Regions from separate parts of the Homo sapiens genome. Here regions 2, 3, 4, 5, 6 and 7 are each linked to region 1. Evidence: promoter capture Hi-C in 16 types of primary human blood cells and fetal thymus (Javierre and others, 2016). All regions are on one chromosome and are shown on one strand. The core of a region is centred on a gene start or on the middle of the fragment in contact, and the rest is flanking DNA. Distances in the headings are between cores, read along the strand shown. Region 1 holds the start of TBL1X (transducin beta like 1 X-linked). Region 2 has its middle 56 kb from the start of LINC03114. Region 3 has its middle 34 kb from the start of LINC03114. Region 4 overlaps WWC3 (WWC family member 3). Region 5 has its middle 7.5 kb from the start of WWC3. Region 6 has its middle 3.7 kb from the start of LINC03114. Region 7 has its middle 18 kb from the start of CLDN34.

Evidence for each region. Contacts are between HindIII fragments. The CHiCAGO score rates a contact against its expected background, and 5 or more counts as called.
Region 2: a contact is called between a fragment that was not itself captured here and the fragment with the promoter of TBL1X in region 1, in 4 of 17 cell types (M1 macrophages, non-activated CD4 T cells, M0 macrophages and 1 more). The highest score is 7.5, in M1 macrophages.
Region 3: a fragment that was not itself captured here is called in contact with the fragment with the promoter of TBL1X in region 1 in 4 of 17 cell types (non-activated CD4 T cells, naive CD4 T cells, total CD4 T cells and 1 more); the score reaches 6.2 in non-activated CD4 T cells.
Region 4: a fragment that was not itself captured here is called in contact with the fragment with the promoter of TBL1X in region 1 in 1 of 17 cell types (activated CD4 T cells); the score reaches 5.1 in activated CD4 T cells.
Region 5: a contact is called between a fragment that was not itself captured here and the fragment with the promoter of TBL1X in region 1, in 2 of 17 cell types (activated CD4 T cells and non-activated CD4 T cells). The highest score is 8.4, in activated CD4 T cells.
Region 6: a contact is called between a fragment that was not itself captured here and the fragment with the promoter of TBL1X in region 1, in 4 of 17 cell types (activated CD4 T cells, non-activated CD4 T cells, naive B cells and 1 more). The highest score is 9.1, in activated CD4 T cells.
Region 7: a contact is called between a fragment that was not itself captured here and the fragment with the promoter of TBL1X in region 1, in 1 of 17 cell types (monocytes). The highest score is 5.7, in monocytes.

The regions. Positions count from the first base shown.
Region 1 is chrX:9,463,140-9,466,728 of GRCh38, reverse strand. It overlaps TBL1X (transducin beta like 1 X-linked), which reads right to left and starts at 1,671. Exons shown (of 18, transcript NM_005647.4): 1 at 1,282-1,671. RefSeq lists silencers at 696-845, 1,146-1,285, 1,406-1,985 and enhancers at 2,216-2,415, 2,243-3,071, 3,446-3,589. The HindIII fragment of the contact is 11,363 bases long and covers 1-3,589 here.
Region 2 is chrX:8,869,748-8,873,336 of GRCh38, reverse strand. No RefSeq gene overlaps it. Among named protein-coding and RNA genes, the nearest start is that of LINC03114, 56 kb to the left of the region's middle. The HindIII fragment of the contact is 3,918 bases long and covers 1-3,589 here.
Region 3 is chrX:8,891,713-8,895,301 of GRCh38, reverse strand. No RefSeq gene overlaps it. Among named protein-coding and RNA genes, the nearest start is that of LINC03114, 34 kb to the left of the region's middle. The HindIII fragment of the contact is 1,516 bases long and covers 1,253-2,768 here.
Region 4 is chrX:10,023,022-10,026,610 of GRCh38, reverse strand. The region is part of intron 2 of WWC3 (WWC family member 3); the gene reads right to left. Among named protein-coding and RNA genes, the nearest start is that of WWC3, 9.6 kb to the right of the region's middle. The HindIII fragment of the contact is 2,935 bases long and covers 84-3,018 here.
Region 5 is chrX:10,005,928-10,009,516 of GRCh38, reverse strand. No RefSeq gene overlaps it. Among named protein-coding and RNA genes, the nearest start is that of WWC3, 7.5 kb to the left of the region's middle. The HindIII fragment of the contact is 6,322 bases long and covers 1-3,589 here.
Region 6 is chrX:8,929,104-8,932,692 of GRCh38, reverse strand. No RefSeq gene overlaps it. Among named protein-coding and RNA genes, the nearest start is that of LINC03114, 3.7 kb to the right of the region's middle. The HindIII fragment of the contact is 2,292 bases long and covers 911-3,202 here.
Region 7 is chrX:9,983,773-9,987,361 of GRCh38, reverse strand. No RefSeq gene overlaps it. Among named protein-coding and RNA genes, the nearest start is that of CLDN34, 18 kb to the right of the region's middle. The HindIII fragment of the contact is 4,245 bases long and covers 1-3,589 here.

The DNA of each region.
Region 1 (3,589 bases), core at 422-2,921:
ACTTTTCATAAAATCGTCAAGTGCCACTTCCAACACCAAAGCCACTGCCTGGAACCTTAGCAGGGAGGTTGCCTTCCTTCCCCCTCGCCTTCCAGGTTAAACCAGGGACTGGGCGATGTTTCAGGAGAGGAAAACATCCAAAAGGCAGGTCAAACCACACATGACAATGCAAAGCAGAAACAGTTGCAAATACAATAGAGGGTAGGTTTTTGTTTCTTTTTAGGTTTTGCTCCAGAACATCACTGACTCGAGAATAAACGTCAGTCCCTACCTTTGTGGAACGTCCAACGCAGCTGGCTGGGGGAACACGAGGCCTTGCAGGGAGCGAGCCCCGGCCCCGGTCTGACGGAACACAGGCGACGCACGTGAAGTCCAGGCCCTATCCCAGCGCAGGCGGGCCTCCAGCGACCCACAGTTGTCACATATCCGGCCAGCGCCGACTCCCGAAGGCGCACTCCCCATACTCCACTCCGAGCACCGGTCCCATCGTTAGGGAAGGTCCCCCTGGATAGCAAGGCCGGGGCCCAGGATCTGCGAGACCCACCCCACCCGCCCCGTCAGAGCCCAGGAGCAGCAACAGGTCTGCGCTCTCCCCGGGCGGCGCTCTGCAGACCCTCGACGGGCCAAGGGTGCCCCCAGCCCAGCCGTGCGCTCAGGCCGGGGAGATGGGCGGAGGACTGGGGCTCCCGACTTCCTTGACAGTTTCTGCGCGTCAGAAACTGAGCAGACACGGGGCCCGCGCCACCTCGCCCGCCGCTTGCCCCACTCCGCGAGGCTGCGCTTCCACCCGGGTCCGGGAGGGCCGGCCCGCGTCCCGGGTATGAATGGGGCTCTTCTCCCCAACAGCGGGGAAATCCCGCCACCGCCCTCCACCCCGGTCCCCGGAGCCCGCGGTGGCGCAGGTTTGCCCAGCAAGCCCCTGAATCGGCAGACAAAGGGGCACCGGAGGAAAAGCCGAGCGCTTCCCTAAACTTACCGGCCACTTCCCCCTCCCCAAAACAAAGGAGCCCCCCGCCGACCTCCGTCTCTCCCCGCAAGGCGCGCCGGCACTTCGGGGAGCGGCCACCTCGGGGTATTGTTCAGGCTCCTGGGAGCGCGCCGCACCCCAGTCCGAGCGCCGCGGGGACAGTTGGCGACCTGCACCTACAGGAGTTCCAGGGGCGGGTGGAGCGTTCGGGCGCCCCGAGCCGCCGGCCGGACCCTGGAGGGTCAGCGCGGGACCCGCCTCCCCGCAGAAGTTTGCGGACCCCGCGCCCGGCCCGCCGAGCCCTGCGCACTCACCTCGTCGCGAGCAGCGCAACTTGTGGCGGCGCCGCGCGCCCGGCCGCGCTCCGAACCTCCCTCCAGCCGGCAGCCTCCGAGTCCCGGCCGTGCGGCGGCCGAAGAGGGCCCGGCGCCCCGGAGCAGCCGCGCGCCGCCCCCGGGCCGCCCCCGCCCCGCCGCCGCCGAGTCCCGGAGAGAGCGCGGGCGCTGGAAAGTTTCGGTGGCGAATGGCGGCCTGAGGGCGCTGCGGCGGCGGCGGGGCGGGGGCGCTGGCGGCTCCTCGCTCCCAAGCGCGGAGTGGGGGCGCTGAGGCGGGCGCGGCGGCGGCGGCGGCGGCAGCGGGAGAGGGCGGGACAGCGGGAGGGACTGGCACGGACAGTGACCTCCACGGGGAGCTGCCGCGAGCGCGCGGACCCCAGCCAGGAGGACCGCCAGGGGTCCGCCCCCGCCGCCGGCCCCTCCCTCACGGCCGTGGGAGGGGACCCGGCGTACCACCCGGCCCCGCCCCTGCGCCCCGGGGGAGCCGCGTCCCGAACCAGCCCCTCCCCTACGAGGGTAGGGACTCCGGCCCTGCCCCTCCCCCGCGGCTCCTAGTGGGGACCCGCGTCCCAACCCAGCCCCTGTCCCACGGTCGGGGGACCAGCGTCCCTACCAAGCCCGCCCCGCTCCCCCACGCCTAGGGTGGGTGAGGGGAACCCGGGCCTCTCCCTAGTTGCTCTGGTCCCGGTCCCTTCCCCGTGGCCTCCGTGGGACTGAGAGGACCCCAGGGCTACCCCCATCACATCCCAAACCCAGCCTTTCCACGACTGCCTCGAGGGGACGGGAACCTCGGCCACCCCCTCAGTTTCTAGGGGGCAGGGGAACCTCGATCACTGCTAAAGTGTTACCCTCCCCCACCCCAAAAAGGAAGCCACCCGGCTGCCCCAACAGAACCCCCTGCCACCTGCCCGATGGTGAATCTCCCTCAAAATCGGCGTCTTAGAAGACACCCCAGTAGTCTTTACCCCAGCTCAAAAAGTGGGGGTTCCGGCGGAGCCTCGACCTTTGCAAAACACCTCCCAAGAAGAGCCAGAAATGCTTAGGGACAAACTCAGACACACAGGCATAGGCGCCAGGAACTCGGGTGTGGGGGCTGAGGAGGTTGGGGGGACCTGGGCACTCGGGCCTCATCACTCCCACCCCAACCCCCCAGGCATCAGCCCTCTGGCCCTTGCAAAGTGCTTTATGTTGCAATGGCTTACACGGCCTGGCCCCGGTGTACCTAAGTCCCCAGCGCTCCTTCCTCCCCTCCACGTAGGCTACTCCCAACCACTCGCAGCCTTAATTCAGTTAAACAGATCTCCACTCCCCCTCCCCAGCACCTCTGGGGTCAGCCTCGTTGAATATTTTTCAAATATTCTTGCCCCTTCCTTTACTATATAATGAGCTTCGTGCTAAGAGCCCGGTACACTCAGCAATCTAAACTATAACCTCACTTGCTCTTCCTCGAACTCTAGACCATTTGTTGTTCTGGTTGTAGGGGGAGGGGGACCTAAGGTGAGGTTTTTGTTTTTTTGTTTTTGTTTTTGTTTTTCTGAGGAGTCTCGCTCTGTCGCCCAAGCTGGAGTGCAGTGGCGCGCTGTCGGCTCATTGCAACCTCCACCACCCTGGTTCAAGCAATTCCCCTGCCTCAGCCTCCCGAGTAGCTGGGATTACAGGCGCATGCCACCACGCCCAGCTAATTTTTTTTGTATTTTTAGTAGAGACGGGGTTTCACCATATTGGCCAGACTGGTCTGAACTCCTGACCTCAGGCAATCCGCCGGCCTCGGCCTCCCAAAGTGCTGGGATTACAGGCGTGAGCCACCGTGCCCGGCCGGAGGTGAGTTTTTAAGAGGCCGGTCCTCCACCAAAACGGCGGACCTCAAAATTACCCTGCAAAATATTGCTGTAAAACGTCAATGATGCAAAACGACTGTTGCTACACCATCATTAGAGGACATCAATAAAAAAATACACACTTACACAGTCTCCATAATTGTGAATCAGCAGAATAGATTGTGTCTTATTATGTATCAGTTGCCATTCAAGGCCCCCCAGAAGGACATGGTGGGGCCTTCCCTTGAGCCTGCCCTTCGTTGCTCCTGGGCTCCCTGGGCTTGTGCAGACTGATGCTGAGGTATTACATGCAATAGAAAAACGAAGGGTGCAATAGAAAACCCGAACGAGCTCATGATGCAACCCTGCCCTGGCTACACGTGCTTCCCTTCCCCCACCGCCTGCTGGTGGGAGTGCTGCGTTTTTTCCGCCTGTAGGGTCACATTGTGGTTGATTGATTCTCCTTTCGC
Region 2 (3,589 bases), core at 590-3,089, 590 kb after region 1:
GCTGAACTCAAGTTTTCAAAGTGCTGACCTCAGCTATAAGCTCCTTAAGGACAAAAACTTTAATTTACTACTGACACAGCAATAATATATGGCAGGTGGTAGTTTTGTAACAGGGACTATACTGTAAAAATATTCCATTTTTTCCTCTTTGGTTCTCTTTTTCATTTTTGAGCAGTCTTTCCTGTAGCTCTCTCAGGGGCATCCTCTGTTTGGGTAGGGATGATGGTGTGAGTGAAGGTTCATTCTCTTATAGAAGAAAGGAAAGGGGTGGTATCAGGGTAATGTTAGGTTTTAGGGGTTCGCAACTAGAAAGTAGCCTTGTGACCCAGACAATAAAAACTCTGAATTCCTTATTTACATATTTAGTATTTCAAGAACTGTGCTTGATGAGCCAGCTCATAGAGCTTTATGCCAGGAAGAAATATCTAAGGAAGAGGGAAAGGAGGAGGGGGCTCATGGTATTTTAGACAGGGGCAAAATAAGGGAGATTGAGAAAAACATCTGTCTTGGCCTCCTGCTGCTGCTATAACGAATTCTCTCACTTGGTGGCTTAAAACAAGACAAACTTATTATCTGACCGTTCTGGAGGTCAGATGTCTGGAATGGGTCTCACTGGGCTACAATCAAGGGCTATGTTCTTTCTAGACATTTAGAGGACAATCCATTCCCTTGTCTTTTCTAATTTCTAGGGGCTGCCTGCATGCCTTACTTCTTGGCTCCCTTGTTCCATTTTCAAGGCCAGTAGCATGGCGTCTTCCCATTTCTCTGTCTCTCTCTGGCCTCTGCTTTCATCCTCACATCTTCATCTCTCATTCTCGCCCTTCTGCCTCTCTTCACAAAGACCCTTGTGATGACATTGGGCTCACCCGGACAACCCAGGGTCATCTTCCCATTATAAGAGCCTTTGCTTAATCACATCTGCAAAGCCCCTTTGTTGTGTAAGGTAACATAGTCTTAGGTTTTGGGGATTAGGATATGAATATCTTGGCAGGGAGGCATTATTCAGCTTACCCAGCACCCCTGCTGCATTCAGCTGCAAGAGGTCTGGTGCAGACGTGACTGTAGAGCACAAAGTGCCTGGGCCCTCGGTCATATGTAATCCTTGAGTTAGAGTAGCATGTCCTCAGATATGCTGCTTATTTTACAGAGAAAGGACTATGCCTATCTGATAGTTTCCTGCTTTATTAAGCATGGCATAGCTGTAGTATAGCAGTCTCTGCATGTTTGTAATGCACTCCTCTCCATTGCTTCTTAATTTTTCAGTTTGTGAAGAAAGCACACCTAGAGCACAGTGTCACTCAAAACTATAATGATAATACAAAACTATGCAGCCATCATTAATCCACATTAGTTCTTCACCAATGTTTCTTAAAACACCAGCTATTGACAAAAGATATTTCTTTCTAAGTGACAGGGAAGACCAGACTGCTAAGTTACCTTTTGTTATGGAGGTGTGATGCTTGGTAAGGGATCTCATTCCAAATGCACCTGCCTGACGCCACTGGACAGCTCAGCCCACTCTGCAACTCTTGGATCTCCCACTGGTGTGTGGGAATGGAAGAGTTAAACTGTGATGCTGCAGACTGGTGGGCAGATGACTTTTAACTCATCTCCTCTAACCATATGAACATTGAAAAGTGGGAGACTGGGAACAGCTCTAGAGGAAATTGCTTTTGAGTATCTTGGGAGCGTCTTTCAGAAAACGCTAACCTCAAAGATATCTTTTCCAGCCTAGAGCCAATGGATTATATAAACTCCCTTCCACCACGGTGCCAACACAGCATTTTCAGAAGTAATTATGTAGCTGAGTTCACAGGCCAAAATAGAATATTTTAAAATATGTTTTTCAGAATTGTCAGACTTTCTTCAGTTCCTGAATCTGCTGTAATTAGGATGGAGGTGTTTGGTGTTGTGCTGGTGAAACTTGTGTATGTGAGGTAGAACTATGAGACTCTGTAAGCAGAATGAGCAACTAGGTCTTTCAAGGAGCGTAGCAGCCCCAGTGACAAAAGTCATTTAGAGCCAGATGGAATATGAGCAAATCAGAGAACCCAACAGAATCAGTAAAGGAGGTTAGGCCAAGCTGGTCATGGTTGTATTTCCATAGCCTGCCAGATGTGCCTCCACCCTTCTCCATCCTCTCTGTACCCTCAGGAAGTGACTCCAGTGGACTACATCTGTGGGCCTTGGCTAGCTGACTTCCTGTTGGCTTCTAGGAGGAGATTGGCAGGAGGCAGGAGACTGCCTTTGGGACACAGGTGCTGCATGGATCTGGTAACCACTTCTATCCATGGCCACTTCACCTCTGGACATAGGAACTGTTTACCAGAGATCCTAGCCCCAGGGAACTTCAACATCCCTCTCCAGTATCTTTGCACATAGTCAGTGCATTAGATTCTCCTTGGCATTGATTTCTTCTGGTGGGACTTTTCTACATTATTTTATTTTCTTCTCTTATCTGCTTTATAAAATCTGCAGAAACTACTCTATAGTGTGAATTCTATTCTTTTCAACTTACTATTTTTTTTAACAAACTCTTCAGATGAAAGATGACAGCTGTGTTACTGAAGCAGAGTGATCCTCCAGGTACTCATAATCAGTAGTCAGGTAAATGACTCCCAAGGATAATGGTCCTGGAGCAGGACCTAATTCCTGAGTGAGAACCGCCTGACTGCTACTCTAGATACAGTAAGGAGCGGGGGTGAAATGTCGCATTTCCTGTGGCAGAGAGAGTTGCTTTCAAAACTTTTCTGGCTTCCTTGCCTGTGCAAAGTTGAGCAATTATAAGAACAGAATTGCTTGTCTATAAAATGGAGACAAAAATTCATTCCTCATAGGGCAGTTGTGAAGATTAAAGAAGATTAGAGATGTCATGATTTTCTTCCTCTTCTCTTTCTCCCCCTCCCTTCTCCCCTCTTCTCTTCCTTTCCTGCTCCTCCTCCACATCCTCCTCCACCTCTTCTTCTTCCTCCTCTCCTCCTTATTCTCCTTTTCCTCCTCCTCATCCTCTCCTGATACTCTAATAAAGCAGTTTGCTGATTTGCTCTTCATTTGAGAAAAATAATATAACCTTATTTTGAATCTGTTTTTAGATCCACATCAAAACAATACCTTTGGAATCAGTGTAATTGCTTGCATTATATACTATAGAGTTGTTATCTTAGATCAATGCATCTCATTATTCCTTTGCTTTTTTTTTCCAGAAAACTTAACCCTCTTATCTAATACAGGAACATCTACCTTGCCAGGATGGCACCATATTTATCTTATCAGAGTCTCTGAAAAATTTTTACAGTATGCCCTTTAGAAATTATGCAAGTCATTCCATTTTTGTAGTCACTTTTGTTAAAACTTTAGACATAGCCAAATTGTTCTGCTTCTGGAGAGCATCCTGGAAAATATTTTTTTCTTCTGGGTGCCTACTAGTGACTCAAACCTGTAGTTCTGGTAGAATTTAAAAATCCTTATAGGCTGAATAACACTCCTTGTCTTGTGCTTGGTTCTTAAGCAAAAATAACTCAGGGTTCAGACTGTGTGTGCAGAGGTGTTCTCAAATGGGGGTAATGGGTTGTAATAATACAAGCAAGCC
Region 3 (3,589 bases), core at 761-3,260, 570 kb after region 1:
GGATATTAATCATATTGGATTATTCCCCACCTAATGACCTCATCTTAACTGGACTTGCTGCAAAGACCCCATTTCCAAATAAGTTCATAATCATGATACTGGGCATTAGGACTTCAACATCTTTTGGGGGGACACAATTCAATCTATAACATTTTACGGGGATGCTTCACTTCAGCTCTGAAAAAAATTCAATCTTGCAGGAATGGTTATAAAAGCAAGAGAAAATTTATGGTCAATTATGATTCTGGTGCTAAATCAGCTTCAACATTCATCTTAGCAATTAAAATTACAATTCTAAAGAAGCTGATATTTTTATATTGAATATTTTCCATTTATGTGTTGAATGTTCTTTTGCAAGTAAAAATTATATCCAACTTTCAGAAAAATGTGCATATTTTAGAGTTAGTCCCTTTCTGGATTGTCTCTGTATGGAAAACACCTTAAAACATTTTACGGATTTTTTTGAGGGGAAATAAAGTCAGTTGTTTGCCTCCTGGAGTGGATAATAAATGGTTAAAAATCTGCTAAGAGCCATCAAAGCACCTTCCCTTTATATTTTGATCCTCAAATCAGATCTTGTTGGCTGTCAAGTGATCTGAAATGCTGAATGGAATATTTGAAACTGGGACTGTCCCTGTATGTCAAGAGCGAGTGTCATCTTAATCTTAAGTCTTCAAACTCCTTCCTCAACCACATCTTCCAAATGCAGGCAGTTTTGTAAAACAGGTATTTTACTCATATCTGCAATATCTAGTGATATCAAATTCATACCACCATCATCAATTAACGTCACTGAGATACATATGGCACAGGAAAACATGTTGTCAATGAGCATATTGGGAATTTTCATCAGTTATTATTACAACCCAGTCCAAGAAGAAAATTGGACAGACATGTCACTGTCATTTTAATCGGACCTGTATTATTGACCATTTCATATCTGTAACAAGATGAGTAAAGTCTGTGTAATGGAGTTGAATTAAATTTTCTTTGGAGTCATGTTTGAGGAAATATCTAAGTTCCTGGAAGAAGCTCAGATTAGAATATGTTCTTTCAAAATCTTTGGAAATTCTTAACATATAACTGGGTCCACCAATGTCCAAGAGAGTAGGATGTGCAGTAAGTGTTATGTGTAGATTTAACAGATGTCAGAGCAAAACTTCAAGCATAATTGTAATTCTTCACTGTGTCAGGGCAATAGACACACATGTCCTGGAAGCCTCACACAGCCTGATACTTTTTACTTCAAGCTTTAAACCAAGTACAGCTGTATCAGCTAGTCATTACCACGATATTGCCACATAACAAAATGTCCAAAAGTTTATTTTAATAAATCAACAAACCCTTTTTTTCTTCTCTATCAGGCATCTGTGTATTGGTTGACTCAAGGTCACCTGGGCATGGCTGATTGGGTTTGGCCTGGCTGGAGCTGTAGGTTGGAATCAGGTCTACTTTATGTGCCTCTCATCTTCCTTAGTACAGCAAGCTATCTAGAATGGGTTCTTCTCATGGTAATGACAAAACCATAGGAGAGATGAGTGGAAACATGTGTTGTCTTTTCAGGCCTGGACTTGACTAGCAAACCATAACCTCTGCCTTTGCTTCTCTGACCAAAGCAAGTAACTTTGCTGTGTGGGCAGAATAATGGTCCCCCAGTGATAGATCTGTTTCAATTCCCAGCAGCTGTTAATTAATATGTTACCTTACATGGCAAAAGGGACTTTGCAGATGTGATTAGGTTAAGGACTTGAGATGGGAGATTATTCTGGATTACCTAAATGGGCAGGAGGATCAGAGTGAGAAGGAGATATAATCGTGGAAGCAGAGGTCAGAGTAATGCCAGTGTTGGGGCTGGGGCATGAACCAAGTAATGAGGGCAGCCACTAAAATCTGAACAGCAAGGAACTGATTCTTCCCTAGACACTCCAGGAGGAACAAAACATCCTGACTTTAGCCCTGAAAGAACCATTCGTGGACTTCTAACCTCCAGAACTATAAAATAATAAGTTAGTGTTATTTAAAATCACTAAGTTGTGATAGTTTGTTACAGCAGCAATGAGGAAACTAATACAGTTGCCAAGCCCAGCATCAATGCAGCAGGGAAATTGACTCACTGGTAATGGGAAAAGTCACATGAAAAAGGATGGGGCTGCTAGGGGGGTTGAAAGATCAAGAACAAAATGTAATCAACATGGCAGTTATTGAATTGTATTCCTCAGTTAACGCATTGTAGATCAATGTGGGAGGGTCAGAGTTTTAAAGAAATGTAGGGAGAATCTGGCTGTCTTGTTCTTTGGAGAAGACTGGTGGATAGAAAAGGATTCCAACTCAGTGTCCCATTATGGACCAGTCTGTAGGTCTCAACATGCAATTGTACCTAGAGATTCAGCTGCCCCGCAGAGAGAACTACCACCTTCTTGAGCATGTACTCATCGACTCCAAATCCTAGTGAGCTTTCAGCCTGACAGGATGGTGTTCCAGAATGTGGCTAACCACCCAACATTGCAAAAGTGATTATCATCCTAACCCCACAACTTTTAGATTTGGGTGGACATGAAGATAAAATACCATCTGGGTTCTCAGGGGCAACTGTTCAGAAGAAATGTGAAAGATGGCAAAAAAAAAATTTGAGGTCCACTGACAACTTATCTCCTTAGGCAAGCTGACTTACATAAAGCAAAATGAATGCAATTTCTTTGTTTAGCAAAGGGTTACAGATCACACCATGAGTCTATGAATAGACACTATTTGTGGGTGGTTGTTAAGCTTCTTAATCAGGAAAGAGGTATGTTTTATTTTGAGAAAACTCTCTTTTCCTTCAGACTGTAAGGTCCTTGGAGAGGAGCTGTGACTCAGTTTTTGTTGTACCCCTGGTAATTGACAAATTTGTGAAATATAAAATTTGATTGGTGGAAGAAGTTGTGAATTGGAATTACTGAAGGTTGGTCCCAGATACTGATTTTTACAAGTCTCAGAATATTAGTTTCTTAATGCTGCTGTAATAAATTTTCATAAACTTTGTGTCTTAGAACAACTCAGTATATTATCTCAGAGTTCTAGAGGTCAGGGCACAAAATGGGCCATGGTAGAGTTGAGGGGCTGCATTCCTTCTGGATGCTCCAGAGGAGAATCTGTGTTTTTGCCTTTTCCAGATTTGAAACACCACCTGCATTCCTTGGCTTGTGGCCCCTTCCTCCATATTTAAAGCTTGCAGTGTGACATTGTCAAACTTCTCTTTCTCTCTCTCTGACCCCTGTTTCCATCTTTCTATCTCCTTCTCTGACTCTGACTTTCCTGCCTCTCTCTTATAGGGACCCCTGTGATGACACTGGGCTCACCTAGATAGCCCAGAGTCATCCCCCATCTCAAGATCTTTAACTGAATCACATCTGCAAAGTCCCTTTTGCCATGTAAGGTCACAAGTTCATAGCATTAGGAAGTAGGCATGCTGTTTCTCTTGAGTTCTTTGCAGTGCTACAATTCCAGCATCACTAAACTAACAGTGGAAACCAGAGATAGGTTTTTTTCCCTTGGCAGTTGGACAGTGCTACAGACATTTTGAAAAAGTTAAGTTAATAATGAGAATAAT
Region 4 (3,589 bases), core at 302-2,801, 560 kb before region 1:
TCGACTGGCTCTAAAGGATAAGATGATGCTGTTACCACGTTTAGCGTAAGAAAAGGTACTGAAGGCAGACAGCTACCAAAGCTTAATTCATCCATCCACCCACCTCATCAAAGACAGACTTTCCACTCCACCACCCTCAGCTTCTCAGCCAGCTCCCTCCTAGTTTTGGGGGCATCAGTGTGGCTGCCCACCTCCAGGTTTCCATGGAGACAGAGCATCAATTAGCAGAAGTTCCTTCCACGTAGGTCTATGGGGACAAGGAGCCTTCTCCCCAACCATGCCTGTCTCATACCTCCCCTCACAGCTCATTGACCAGGTCTGAGTCATGTGCTCCTGCCTCAGCCAATTGCAGGCCCGGATGCTGTATGATTGGCTTAGAGCAATCTCAGGCACTATTGATATTAGGGGCTGGATCATTCATTGCTGTGGTGGGGTCGATCCTGTGCATTGTAGGATGTTCAGCACCATCCTTGACCTCTACCCACTGGATGCCAGCAGAACCTACCCCCAGGTGTTAACAATCAAAAATCTCTCCAAATGTTTCCGAATGCTCTGGGTGTAGGGAGAAGGAAGAGGGAATCCTCAGTTGAGACCCACTGGCTTAGGGCAATCAGGACATCACCAGGAAGTACAGACAAGGTCGTAACTCCAGAGCCGAGAGAAGGTGTGGCCACCCCAATAAAATGGGTGCTCTGACAGCTTACAAGGAGGGACTGCTCTTGAGAACATCAGAATAGTGTACATGAGGAAAAGTCAGTGAAATACAGCAATACAGAATGATCATTATAAATCAATAAAACCTGTCTCTACATGCATAATTTCATTCAGCAAACATTTATTGAGGGCCTACTATATGCTAAGTACTATATAGACAAAACACAATAAAATCTAAATGAGATTATTTAAATTTATTTTTCAATTATAAATAACTAGATCTCTGCTTGGTTCCTTCATTCTCAATCTCTTTTTCACTTTTTATTTTGGAATAATTACAGATTCATAGGAAGTTGCAAAGAAATATACAGGGAGGTCCCTGTGAAATGTCCCGAATAGGCAAATCTATAGGGATGAAAAGCAGATTAGCGGTTGCCAGGGGCTGGGGGTATGGGGGCTGACTGCTAATGAACACAGCGTTTCTTTATGGAGTATTCAGAACTACATAGGGGTGACGGTTGCACAATCTAGTGAATATAACAAAACCCACTAAATTGTACACTTTTATTTATTTTTATTTATTTTTCATTTTTTTGAGATGGAGTTTCACTCTGTCGCCCAGGCTGGAGTGCAGTGGTGCGATCTCAGCTCACTGCAGCCTCCACCTCCCGGGTTCAAGTGATTCTCCTGCCTCAGCCTTCCGAATAGCTGGGGTTACAGGTGCCCACCACCATGCCCAGCTAATTTTTCTTGTTTTTTTAGTAGGGACAGGGTTTCACCACGTTGGCCAGGCTGGTTGCAAACTCCTGACCTCAAGTGATCCGCCCGCCTCAGCCTCCCAAAGTGCTAGGATTACAGGCATGAGCCACCGTGCCCAAGGTAAATTTTATAGTATCTCAATTTTTTAAAAATGGAAATAATGTTTAAGGTAAATCTAGTTGACCCCATACTCCAAGGCCTCCCCCATGCTGGGGACAGGCACCCGTCCACAGGACAGAGCTCTAAGTGGCAGAAAGAACAAGTCTCCTGCAGTGACTATGTGGTCTCCTGGCCGAGCTCCGGGCCGCCTGGAAACACCATACCCAAGCTGGTAGATGCCCTCTTTCCTGGAGCACGGAGCCTCGGGCAGAGGAGCTACTTGGGGCACCTCCGCCTGCCTCAAAGATCCACCCACTGCCACTGTGGGGCTGGTGATCCCAGGCTTGGTGCAGCCATCTCCCCCGTTCATTCTCAACATCAACATCCCTCCCTCCTCCCCATGCTCTCTCTCAGTCCCTTCAGTTTTAAAGAAATGAAAAGAGAACCCTCCAGATGAAAAATGCTGGAGATCCCACAGCTCCATAAGCGGCCTTTCGAGATGTCCTTGCTCTGTATTTGTAGAATTTCTGAGCAAAGGCAGAAGCACTCCACTCCTCTCACCCCTCCTTCCTCCGAACCAAAGGGAGAACCGAATGGCTCGGGGCACTGAATGGCTCGGAGCATCTTAGGCAGCCTGATCTCTCCCTCCACACACAAACGCGCACACACATACACACACACACATTCAAAAGGCCAGGCCAGCTCTCCAGGTTGCTGCAGAACACCAGTGTGAACAGATGCATTTTCTTCTGTTTCACTGCATATATGTATACTCTTGACAGTCAGTAAATGCCTATCAATTGAGAGTATTCTAAGAATTGAAGAATACACTCATAGTAATATATGTTCCCAGTTTCATATACTGGTTCAGGGTTTTTCACATAAATATGTTTGAAATTTGTTCATGGAAACACAGAAATCAGGTCTCTGTTGCATAGTATCTCAGGAACTGACAACAGGCTTGAAACAAATTCAGCAGCTAAAGATGAAGCATTGTAACCAGGTGGATGGAGGTAGCTCAGACAGTTCTCAGCCAAGGGATACTGCCCGCCCCGGGGGCCATTTGGTAATGTCTGGAGACATTTTCGAGACATCTGAGGGTGGGGAGTTTGCTACTAATATCTCAATCTAGTGGTAACAGACCAGGGACGCTACTAAACGTCATATGCTACATATGACAGCCCTAACAACAAGGAATTACCCCACCGCCAGGGTTACTTTAGACCAGAGTTGAGAAACCCTGGTCTAAAGTAACACGTTCAGGATTGCTTGAGCCCAGGAGCTGGAGGCTGTAGTGAGCTATAATCATGCCACTGCACTACACAGCCTGGGCAACGGAGCAAGACCCTGTCTCCAAAAATAAAATAAAACAAAAATAACACTTTCTTGGTTTGGACACCTTTTAGGACACTGCCCATCAGCAATACAGTAACTTGAACAGCTTAACATGTTTCTCTATGTAACGGAGTTACTGAACACACAAAACCACCACCACCAATGAAAGCTTCTGAGTGGGGTTAATAGAAGGATTTTCGGTTGGCCCCAGTGAGTCCCGGCTCCTCCTTAGGTGCCAGTAAGATTCCTCAGCAGCCCTCCTGATTTCACCTGCCTTCATTCAAGCATTAGCTAAGTCCTCTACACCATGTTTCCTTCACAATGTCTCTGACACAATCCCTGCCTTTTCTAGCCCGAGTGCCCCTGATCGCTCTAGCTCAGGCCTGTGATCACCTGAGAAAACCTCCACTAGTTTCCAACTGGCCTCTTCTCTCAGAAAGCCTACCTCTCCCCACCCCCACATTTAGCTAGCTCATCAAATATGTTTTTGGTACAGCACATCTGATGCGAGTCCCAATGTGAGTGACTCTCCATGCTTGCACAAGAAACGAGGACCCTCTGGGGGTATTGTGAGAAGCCAGGGAGAGAAAAAAGATGTAAAATGCTTCGCACAGTACCTGCCTAAGCATGTAATAAATGTCAGCCGCTGCTGTGTTTGTTATGCAGACACCAAGCTGACCAGATGCTTCCATTCTCACTGAGATAACAATGCATGTGGGGGTGTTAGTTTCCTACCGATGCT
Region 5 (3,589 bases), core at 315-2,814, 540 kb before region 1:
GTTATTATTTTTTTGAGACAGGGCCTCACTCTGTTATCCAGGCTGGAGTGCAGTGCTGCGATCACGGCTCTCTGCAGCCTCCAACTCCCAGGCTCAAGTGATTCTCCCACCTCAGTCTCCTGAGTAGCTGGGACTACGGGCATGCACCACCACACCCGGTTTATATATATATTTGTAGAAAAGGAGTCTCACTATGTTGCCCAGGCTTGTCTCAAACTCCTGGGCTCAAATGTGTAATTTATGAGAACATTTATACTGCCCAAACTTTATAGTGGGAAAACAAGGCTCAGAGAATGTAAGTAACTAGCCTGGTATGACCTGGCCAGTGCTAAAATGCATCAGCCCTAAGACTAAAGCCCAGCTATCCCATCTGACCTCCTGTATTCATCAGGGATGTATAGACAAATAGCTCCAATATATATATATCCAAACTCTCTCTCTCTCTCTCTCTCTCTCTCTCACACACACACACACACACACAGAGAGAGAGAGAGAGAGAGAGAGAGAAAGAGGCAGACAGAGAGAGATATTTATCATAAAGAATTGGCTCATGGAATTATGGAGGCTGACAAATCCCAGGATCTGCAGTTGGCAAGCTGGAGAGCTGATGATGGCACAGTTCCAGTCCAAGTCTGACAACCTGAAAACCAGGAGAGCTGATGGTGTCAGTTCCAGTCTGAAAGTGAGCAGGCTTGAGATCCAAGAGGAGCCAATGTTTCAGTTTGAGTCCAGAGGCAGGAAAAGCCCAACATTCCAGCTCAAGCAGTCACACAGCAAGAGCACCCTCCTACCCAGCCTTTGTGGTCCAGCCAGGCCTTCAACTGATTGGGCAAGGCCCACCGACACTGAGAAGGCAGTCTACAATTCAAATGTGGATGTCATCCAGAAACACCCTTACACACACACAACCAGAGTAATGTTTGACCAAATATCTGGGCACCCCGTGGCCCAGTGGCCCAGTCAAGTTGACACATGAAATTAACCATCACACCTCCTGACTTTATAACTAGTTGTTCTTTGTTTCTATGACTCTTTCTTTCTTTCTCTCTCTTTTTTTTTTCAGGTAGTGTCTCACTTTGTCACCTAGGCTGGAGTGCAGTGACGCAAACATGGCTCACTGCAGCCTCAATCTCCCGGGCTCAAGCAATCCTCCCCGCTCAGCTTCCAGAGTAGCTGAGACCACAGGCACAAGCCACCATGCTCGGCTAATATTCTAACTTTTTGTAGAAATGGGGTCTCACTATGTTGCCCAGGCTGGTCTCAAACTCCTGGACTCAAGAGATCTGCCCACCTTGGCCTCCCAATGTGCTGGGATTCCAGGCGTGAGCCACTGCACCTGGCCTGTTTCTAGGACTCTTTCTGCTCACAGTGTGGCTCGTGGACCAGCAGCGGCAGCATCACGGGGGAACTCATTGAAATGTCCACCCCAGGGCTGTTAGTTTAAGAAGCATCATATTACACCCCATGGAAGAGGATGGTGTGGGGGTGTAGGCATCTACAAAAACTTACTTTACAATATCGATTCACAGAGCCATCTGGGTAGTATTTGCCTTACTTCACCTCATAATCAAGAGGGGTTTATTTATCATTTAAGAGGTGCCAAGCCCTATGGCAATCCCTGAGCAAAGTGTAATCACAAGCCACTTTCACACTTGCTCTGCATGATAAGCACATTGAAGAGCCTGGATCTGTTTGTGACTCAGCTTTAGGCTTGCACAGTAATATACAGTTCAACTTCCCTGGCCCAGAAGTAGAAATGGAGAAGAAGCCAGCTGCAGGCCAACCACACTGTAACAGAGCTTGATTTTTGCCTTAGCTTACTATGCGTCTCCCCTGCCTGATGTCCCAACCCAGGGTCAGCTACATAGTTTGTGCTCTACGTTTTGCAGTGCAAAATGAAAACGCAGGACCCCTTGTTCCAAAAAAAAAAAAATCTCAAGAATTTCCAGATGGTAACAGTGGACCACTACAATAAGCACAAGCCCTTTGGAGCACAGTACCCTGTACAATTGCACAGGCAGCAGCCTTTGAAGCCGGCTCTGTCCATACCTTTCACTTCTAGTCAGGTGACCTTTGAAAATTCCAAAGAAACAACAATTTTCAGTGACAGCAGAGGAGATTGTTTTTGAGAATGGGACTCTGTCCCTGCAAATCAAACTACTTGCTGCCCAAGCCTTCTCTGCCAGCCCAGGTACTTCCCCGAGGTCAGCATGACCCCGTTGGCAGGAAGAACCTCCACTGCTCTTGACTCTCTTGGGTCCCTGGTGCTGGGGGTTGAATTGTGCTCCCCCACCCAAAAAAAGGATACGCTGAGGGCCTAGCCCTGGGTACATGTGGATGTGGCTTTATTTGGAAATGGGGTATTTGTAGATGCAGTTACTTAAGATGAGGTCATACTGGAGTAGGGTGGGCCTTTAATCTAATATGACTGGTGTCATATCATAAGGGAGGGCAGAAGGAACGCAGACACCAGGGTCATGTAAAAATGGAGGCAGAGATTGGAGTAATGAGGCCACAAGGCAACGAATGCCAAGGATTTCTGGCAAGCACCAGAAGCTGGGAGAGAGGCATGGAACAGATTCTACCCTGGAGCCTTCGGAGAGAGAGTGGCCCTGCCTCACACCTGCATTCCAGGCTTCTGGCCTCCAGAACTGTGAGAGAATCCATTTGTGTAGGTTTAAGCCATCAGTTTGTGGTCCTTTGTTACAGTGGCGCTAGGAAACTAACATGCCTGGAACCTTGCCCCCAGGCTCCTGCTGCTGCTTCAGTAGGGAACAGAGTCTATAGAACTCTGTTCACAGGGTCCCAATCAGTGCTGGGAAATCACAGGAAACAGAAGCCTGCCATGAAAGCCCCCAGAGATCCCACCAAACCCAGGAGCCCCAGGCATGACATGCTGGACCTCTCAAGTACATGCCGTAAACTGTAGCAGCCATATCCAGTGTAGACCAGAGGCAAACCACAAATGCCCACATTGGCCATGAGTTGCCCAAAGTTCAGATTTACCTTGGATCCCTGGCTATCCAACTTGCAGATGAGCAAAGTGGCTCTTTATAGAAGCATTCCAGATAATCCTAAAGGAGTGATGAAATTAGAGTTAGAATGAACAAATAGAACTTACAAGGGTTGACTAGATCTCAGCTTTGAGCATTACTGGCTGCTAACATCACAAAAAAGAAAGATGGCTAGACCCACTCTATGGTACTTTATTATAGACAGAACAGACTAAGACACCAGGATTTCTCACAGTAGCACGTCATGTCTCTCTTTTTTTTTTTTTTTGACAGAGTTTTTGCTCTGTTACCCGGGCTGGAATGCAATGGCGCAATCTCGGCTCACTGCAAACTCCGCCTCCTGGGTTCAAGCGATTCTCCCACCTCAGCCTCCCAAGTAGCTGGGATTATAGGCACCCGCCACCACGCCCAGCTAATTTTTGTAGTTTTAGTAGAGACGGGGTTTCACCATGTTGGCCAGGCTGGTCTCAAACTCCTGACCTCAGGTGATCTGCCCTCCTCGGCCTCCAAAAGTGCTGGGATTACAGGCATGAGCCAATAACCCCTACTGAATTTGTATTTGTGCTTACTTGTTA
Region 6 (3,589 bases), core at 807-3,306, 530 kb after region 1:
GCAATCCCATTACTGGATATATACCCAAAGGATTATAAATCGTTCTACTATAAGGACGCAAGCACACATATGTTTATTGCAGCACTATTTGCAACAGCAAAGACTTGGAACTAACCCAAATGCCCATCAATGATAGACTGGATAAAGAAAATGTGGCACAGATATGCCACAGAATATTATGCAGCCATAAAAAAGGATGGGTTCATATCCTTTGCAGGGACATGGATGAAGCTGGAAACAATCATTCTCAGCAAACTACACAGGAACAGAAAGCCAAACACCGCATGTTGTCACTCGTAAGTAGGAGGTGAACAGTGAGAACACATGGACACAGGGAGGGGAACATCACACACTGGGGCCTGTAGGGGGGTTGGGGGTTAGGGGAGGGATAGCATTAGGAGAAATACCTAATGTAGATGATGGGTTGGTGGGTGCAGCAAACCACCATGGCACGTGTATACCTATGTGACAAACCTGCATGTTTTGCACATGTATCCCAGAACTTAAAGTATAAGAATTAAAAAAAAAATTTTCAACACCCCCACCAAAAATATATGTATATATACAGCATTAAGAACTGCCATTACTTAGAACTAGTTATCATTTGGACAGAAAACAGAAAAACTTCTAAATAGTATGTCCATTTTCTAAAGATAATAATTCAAAAGACTTCCTTGTAGGGCTCAACAGCCCAAATAGTTTAAAAATTACATTGTAATTAAAAACCATATGAATCAGAACTAAAAAAAAGTGAATTTAGAATCACAAAGAAGATTCATTCTCTGCTCTTAAATGGAATTGGAGAAATGGAATTTCAATACAAAAAACAAATACATAGCAAAAGAGAAGTTTATAAATATCATTAGAAGGCCATGTAAAGAATCCTGGGATTCAGGGTATCAGAAAAGCTTGCATGGAGGTCGTGGCTTTAGAGATGGAATTATGGGAGGAGTAAACTCTCAACATGTAGAAATTGTTATGTTCTAGGCCACAGAACAGCACATAGACCTCTGCACAAAGACAAAGACTCGAAGTGCAAATTTGATAGTAGAGATAACAAACATTTAGGGGAGACATTAAAGAGGATGGGAGGAACCAGAGGTAGGGAGACCCCAACTTTACATGATATCATGGACAGAGCCTTGAGCAGGAGAGAAAGCATTCATACATGACTGTGTCCTACAACTTTCCCAGCCTCCTAACTGTGGCCAGACCCAGAAACTCAACTGCAAACTGCTCCATTTCCTAACAAGGCAGTAATCTCATTATGTTAAGGGATTACACAAGGGTTGTATTGTCAACAGGGGCACAGGGAATAGCACATTGACTATGAATTAGTTAACATCAGTGGCATTGGAAGAGAAAAAAGCAATTGACCATGTTCAATACTCATTGCTGTAAAACCCACTCATTGGAAATTTTTAATGCAATCTCTGGCTGGCCTGGGACTTACCTTTCTCCTGCTGATGAGGATGTATATACTCAGCAAATTAATTGTGTTAGCACAGCTCAGCCTTCTCAAGCATCTTAAGCCAGGGTGGCAGAGCTAATATTTGCAGACAAACATTAAGTGGCTTCCAAAGGATTTTGTCTATTAATGAAAATAGGTGCCATTTGGTAATGGCATCTCAACCATTTTTGCTATTATTTTTGTTGAGAGTGACCAGATAGCCAAAAAAGGAAAACTGAACAGGTGAGGCTGTAAATTCCCTGGACTGATGGCATTCACATGTGCACAGAGGATGCTTACAGCATATCCTTCCGAGTAGATAATGACATGCTAGGTTTCAGGGAGAAGCCATAGATTTCAGTCATTTTTCTGAATGCTTCACAGACCCAAGGCTGTAGAAACCTTTGGGCTGCTGTTGCTTCCTCATGGGGTTGCTGCCGAGACCTGGCACCAGTGCACCTGATGCGCTTTTGCTGGTTAACGCAGGTGACCTTTCCTCAGTGTCTCTGCAGGAAGACGGATCACTGTCTGGGCTCAGGGAAGAGGTTCCAATCCACAGTTTTAGGTCTCCAACTTATAGCCTTTTACCTCATCCCCACTTGCCCAATCATTGTCCCCAAGGTGGCTGCTCAGGGGAACCCCTGTGCTTGGCCACTGGCTTTGTCAAATCCAGCTCTTCCCTATCACTCTTTACGTCCTATAATGAGTACAGAACACCAGCCTGGATGAACCGTCCCCTCAAAGGGGCTCTTGGTGTTGTCATCTGCCAACAAGCCATCCTCATTTGATGGGAGGTTCCAAATGCGTTTCACTTAGAAAAGGACTTTTTGTGGTTACCTTTCTGATATTTGGGGCTATTAATAATTTCTGTGTAAATTGGCCAATGGCTCTGATACCAGGGGTAAGTGGAAGGGCTGGTGTTTGTCAAAGGCCTGAGTGGGGGAAGAGAGAAGTTCTGTATCTCCTTCTCCAGGGCCCTGGGTTCAGTTTGCTAAGTTAGAAGGGGTGACTCGGCCAGGCGCGGTGGCTAACGTCTGTAGTCCCAGCACTTTGGGAGGCCAAGGCAGGCAGGCAGATCTCGAGGTCAAGAGATGGAGACCATCCTGGCCAACATAGTGAAACCCTGTCTCTACTAAAAATACAAAAATTGGCAGGGTGCGGTGGCTCACGTCTGTAATCCCAGCAGTTTTGGAGGCCGAGGCGGGTGGATCATGAGGTCAGGAGTTCGAGACTAACCTGGCCAACATGGTGAAACACCGTCTCCACCAAAGATACAAAAAATTAGCTGGGTGTGGTGGTGCTCACCTGTAATCTCAGCTACTCGGGAGGCTGAGGCAGGAGAATCGCTTGAACTTGGGAGGCAGAGGTTGCAGTGAGCTGAGATTGCACCATTGCACTCCAGCCTGGGCAACAAGGCGAGACTCTGTCTCAAAAAAAAAAAAAAAAAAAAAAGAAAGGAAAGAAAAGAAAATTAGCTGAGCGTGGTGGCATGCTCCTGTAGTCCCAGCTGCTCAGGAGACTGAGTCAGGAGAATCACTTGAACCTGGGAGGCGGAGATTGCAGTGCGCCCAGATCGCACCACTGCACTCTGGCCTTGTGACAGAGTGAGACTCCTTCTAAAAAACAGAAACAAAACAAAACAAAAAAACAGAAGGGGTGACTCAAGTTGGACATGGTAGAACACAGGTTTGCAATTTCTGTGTAGGAGAAATTACAATTAGAGAAAGTGTTACTTAACATGGCATTAAAGCTTTTTAGCATTTTCTTATCAGCCAATCCCCTAATCTCCCTTCTCTGTTGATGTTACCATTGTTTCAGTTAGCCTTTTCTCTTTTACATTAAAAACATGTAATAAGATATTTGACCTGGTTCCATATTTTTGCAATTGCAAAGTGTGCTGCTATAAACATCCATGTGCAAGTATCTTTTTCTTTCTTCTTTTTTTTTTTGAGATGGAGTCTCGCTCTGTTGCCGCAAGTATCTTTTTCATATAATGACTTCTTTTCCTCTGGGTAGATAACTAGTAGTGGGATTGCTGGGCCCAAATGCCCATCAATCAACAAGTGGATAAAGAAAATGTGGTGTACATATATACCATGGAATACTACTCAGCCATAAAAAGGAATGAAATAATGACAT
Region 7 (3,589 bases), core at 798-3,297, 520 kb before region 1:
ATTGTGTAGGAACACGAAAAGATTGTTGATGTTTGTGTATTTAGTATCCAGCTATATAATTGAACTTTCTGTTGTAGTGTAATAACTTTTCTTGGACTTTTTTTAGGTATAGGGTCAACTTAGCTGAACAAAGATTCACACACCCTTCTAGGATAATTATACCTCTTTTCTCTGTCTCCTGACTTACAGCACCCTGGCTAGAACTTCCAGAACAATCTAGCTGGGCGTGGTGGTGTACGCCTGTAATCCCAGCTATTCAGGAGGCTGAGGCAGGAGAATCGCTTGAACCTGGGAGGCAGAGGCTGCAGTGAGCCAAGATCACGCCATTGCATTCTAGCCTGGGCAACAGACTGAGACTCCGTCTCAAAAAAAAAAAAAAAAAAAAAAAAAAAAGGAACTTCCAGAGCAATCTTACGTAACTTTGGTAATGACAAGTTTTCAAGTCTGGTTCCCTATTTTCAGGGAATTCTTCTAATGTAGTGATTCACAAGTGTGGGAAGACCAGGGTCAGTGAAGGGGGTGCTTTGCTGGGGGGAGGGTGGATTTGAACAAGGCCCCACAGGCGATCCTGAAATGGCCCCCACCACTCCAAGGTTAGAAAAAACTGTACTAATCCTTCATCGTTAAAGATATATTTAAGTGTTCGTTTAAGATAGACAGCATTGAATGAAGTGTCTTTTGTTTTTTTAGTTTACAAAGGGTGCTTATCGGAAATTAATGTGGAACTCTCTCGCTCTTTCTCTCTTTATATATATATATATATATACCAGTTTTACTGAGGTATAATCCACATACTGTACAACTCGCCTGTGTAAAGCATACAATGCAGTGGTTTTTAGTACATTCACAAGGTTGTGCGACCATTGTCACCATCAATTTCAGAACATTTTTGTCCCTCCTAAAACGACCCCTGTGCCCATGAGCAGTCACTCCCCATTCCCCTCTTCCCAGCCCCTGCCCACCATTCATCTACTTTCTGTTTCTATGAATTTCTCTACTCTGGACATTTCATATAAATGGAATTGTACAATTTGTGGCCTTTTGTGTCTGACTTTTTTCACTCGACATCATGTTTTCAAGGTTCATCCACATCGTGTTTGCAAGGTAGTGGTAGGAAAACAAAAGCTGTTTCCCGATTTCTTCCCACCAAGTTCAGCTGTTTCAATGATCCTATGACGAAGATTGTGCCACAAGGAATAGCCTTGTGGATGTGACAGTTACCATCCACGGGCCCACTGTGTCCTAGTGGAACTCCATTCAGAGCCTGGGTTTGATGACCTTATGGGATTTCTTCTGGACCTTTCAGTGAGGACTCTATCACTACACGGTCCGTCGCATCTGGCTTACTCACAGCTACCCAAACCCCACCTCGGCTGTAGTAGCCAGGAAGTTGAAGGCCTGAAGTGCATTTACCAGCCAAGGTTTCAGCATCTCGTCACACACTGCCTCAGTAGCTTACGAACAACATGAGAGGCCTCCGTGAGCACGGGAAGTTGCCCAACGGAGAAGTGCAGGTGTCCCCTCCGGTCACCGCATTTGCTTGTCCTCTGTTTCCCAGTAACCCCCACATCCCGGCACTGCTGCCCCTCCATCTCTCTTCCTCTCTCCCCACGGCTCTGCCATGCCCCTGATTTGGGCCATCACCACCTCTCCTTGGAATTGCTGTCCCACCTGTCACCAGCCTCTGCCTCCAGCTTGGCAAGGCTGCCTGACAAGAATGACCGCCAAGGCCTCTGGTGCCTGATCCAATCTTGCCCACCTCTTGAGGCCAGATTCCTTCCAGGTTAATGGGGGCAGAAAGAGAACTGTGAGCTCCCGTCTGTGGGGATCTCACTCATGCACAGGTTGAGAGCCAGAGTGGCATTCATGAGCAGAAACTTCTTTTCCTGGTGTAGGTCTGTGAACAATCCCTCAGGGCACTTTCATCAACATGTCATCGTCACCAGAATCCATAGTTGACATTAGGGTTCATCCTTGGTGTTGTACATTCTATGGATTTGGACAAACGTACAATGATATGTGTTCATCATTATGGTAGCATACAGATAGTTTCACTGCCCTAAAAATCCTCTGCAATCCCCTCTTCATCTTTCCTTCTTCTCTAGCCCCTGGAAACCACCGATTGTTTTACTGTCTCCATAGTTTTGCCGTTTCCAGAGGGTCACACTGTTGAACTCTTACCGTCCGTAGCCTTTCAGATGGGCTTCTTTCACTGGGAAATATGCATTTAGGGTTCCTCCATGTCTTGTCATGGCTTGATAGCTCATTTCTTTTTGTGCTGAAAAATATCCAATTGTCTTAATGTATCACATTGTTTATCCACTCATCTACCAAAGGACATCTTTGTTACTTCCAAGTTTTGGCAATTATGAGTAAAGCTGCTATAATCATCTGTGCGCAGGTTTTTCTGTGGACGTGAATTCTCAGCTCATTTGGATAAAAACCAAGGAACACAATTGTGGGATCATAAGGGTCTGTCTCTTCTAATTCAAAATGATCCCAATCTCTGGTTTTAATGGAAGGTGTGGGTAATTAATTAGATGTTTTCTCTGAAGGTAGGTTTAGGAATGATGGAACCAGATACAGATACCAAACCCTGGAAGAGACAATACTAAAGAGAATTTAAAATAATTAAAAGTGAAGAAATACTCTTTTTAAAAACTTGATCAGGCCAGGCGCAGTGGCTCATGCCTGTAATCCCAGCACTTTGGGAGGCCGAGGCAGGCGGATCACCTGAGGTCAGAAGTTCAAGACCAGCCTGGCCAACATGGCTGAACCCAATCTCTATTAAAAATACAAAAAATAGCCGGGTGTGGTGGTGTGTGCCTGTAATCCAAGCTATTCGGGAGGCTGAGGCAGGGAGAGTTGCTTGAACCCAGGAGGCAGAGATTGCAGTGAGCCGAGATGGCACCACTGCAATCCAGCCTGGGTGACAGAGCGAGACTCTGTCTCAAAGAAAAAAAGAAAAGGAAAAAAAAAAACAAACCGTGATAGATGACTCTAATGTCTAATAACTCCGTATCCCAAACTGTTTACCTTTTGGAAATAAAATTGCTAAAATGCATGCCTTTTATAACCAGCAAGAATTCTCCCAAGCCTGCATACCTGTCTCAATCTGCTGGTTCTCCCACCTGGCTCTGTATTGGCAGCAGGTTTTCTATTGGGCCTATTTTGATGGTAGGTATTCATCTGCGTTAGTTAAGGGTGAACAATAGCAGCCCAGTTACCAAGTAACCCGATTTAATAAGCAGCTGCATTCTGGTTGGTTGACAAAGGACTGAACTAATGGTTGCAGACCAGCTGGCACGAACTGCGGCGAATCCGTCAAGATGTCAATCTAACGAGCCAGTCCTGTTGTGACCGAGAGACAGTTTCCCCAGAATAACTTGGGCCTGGAGAGCAGGATGAAAAGCAGGGCGATCTGGCTGATTCAAAATGTGGGGCTCTTGGCCTCTGTGGCTGGCCGCGTCTGTTCCCTGGCATGCCTCAGTGGCCTGCCAAGTGCATGCCTCAGTGGCCTGTGTGTGCATGCCTCAGTGGCCGACTTTCTCCTCGGGTTTACTCGAGAGTGAGAAGTACATGCTGGGCC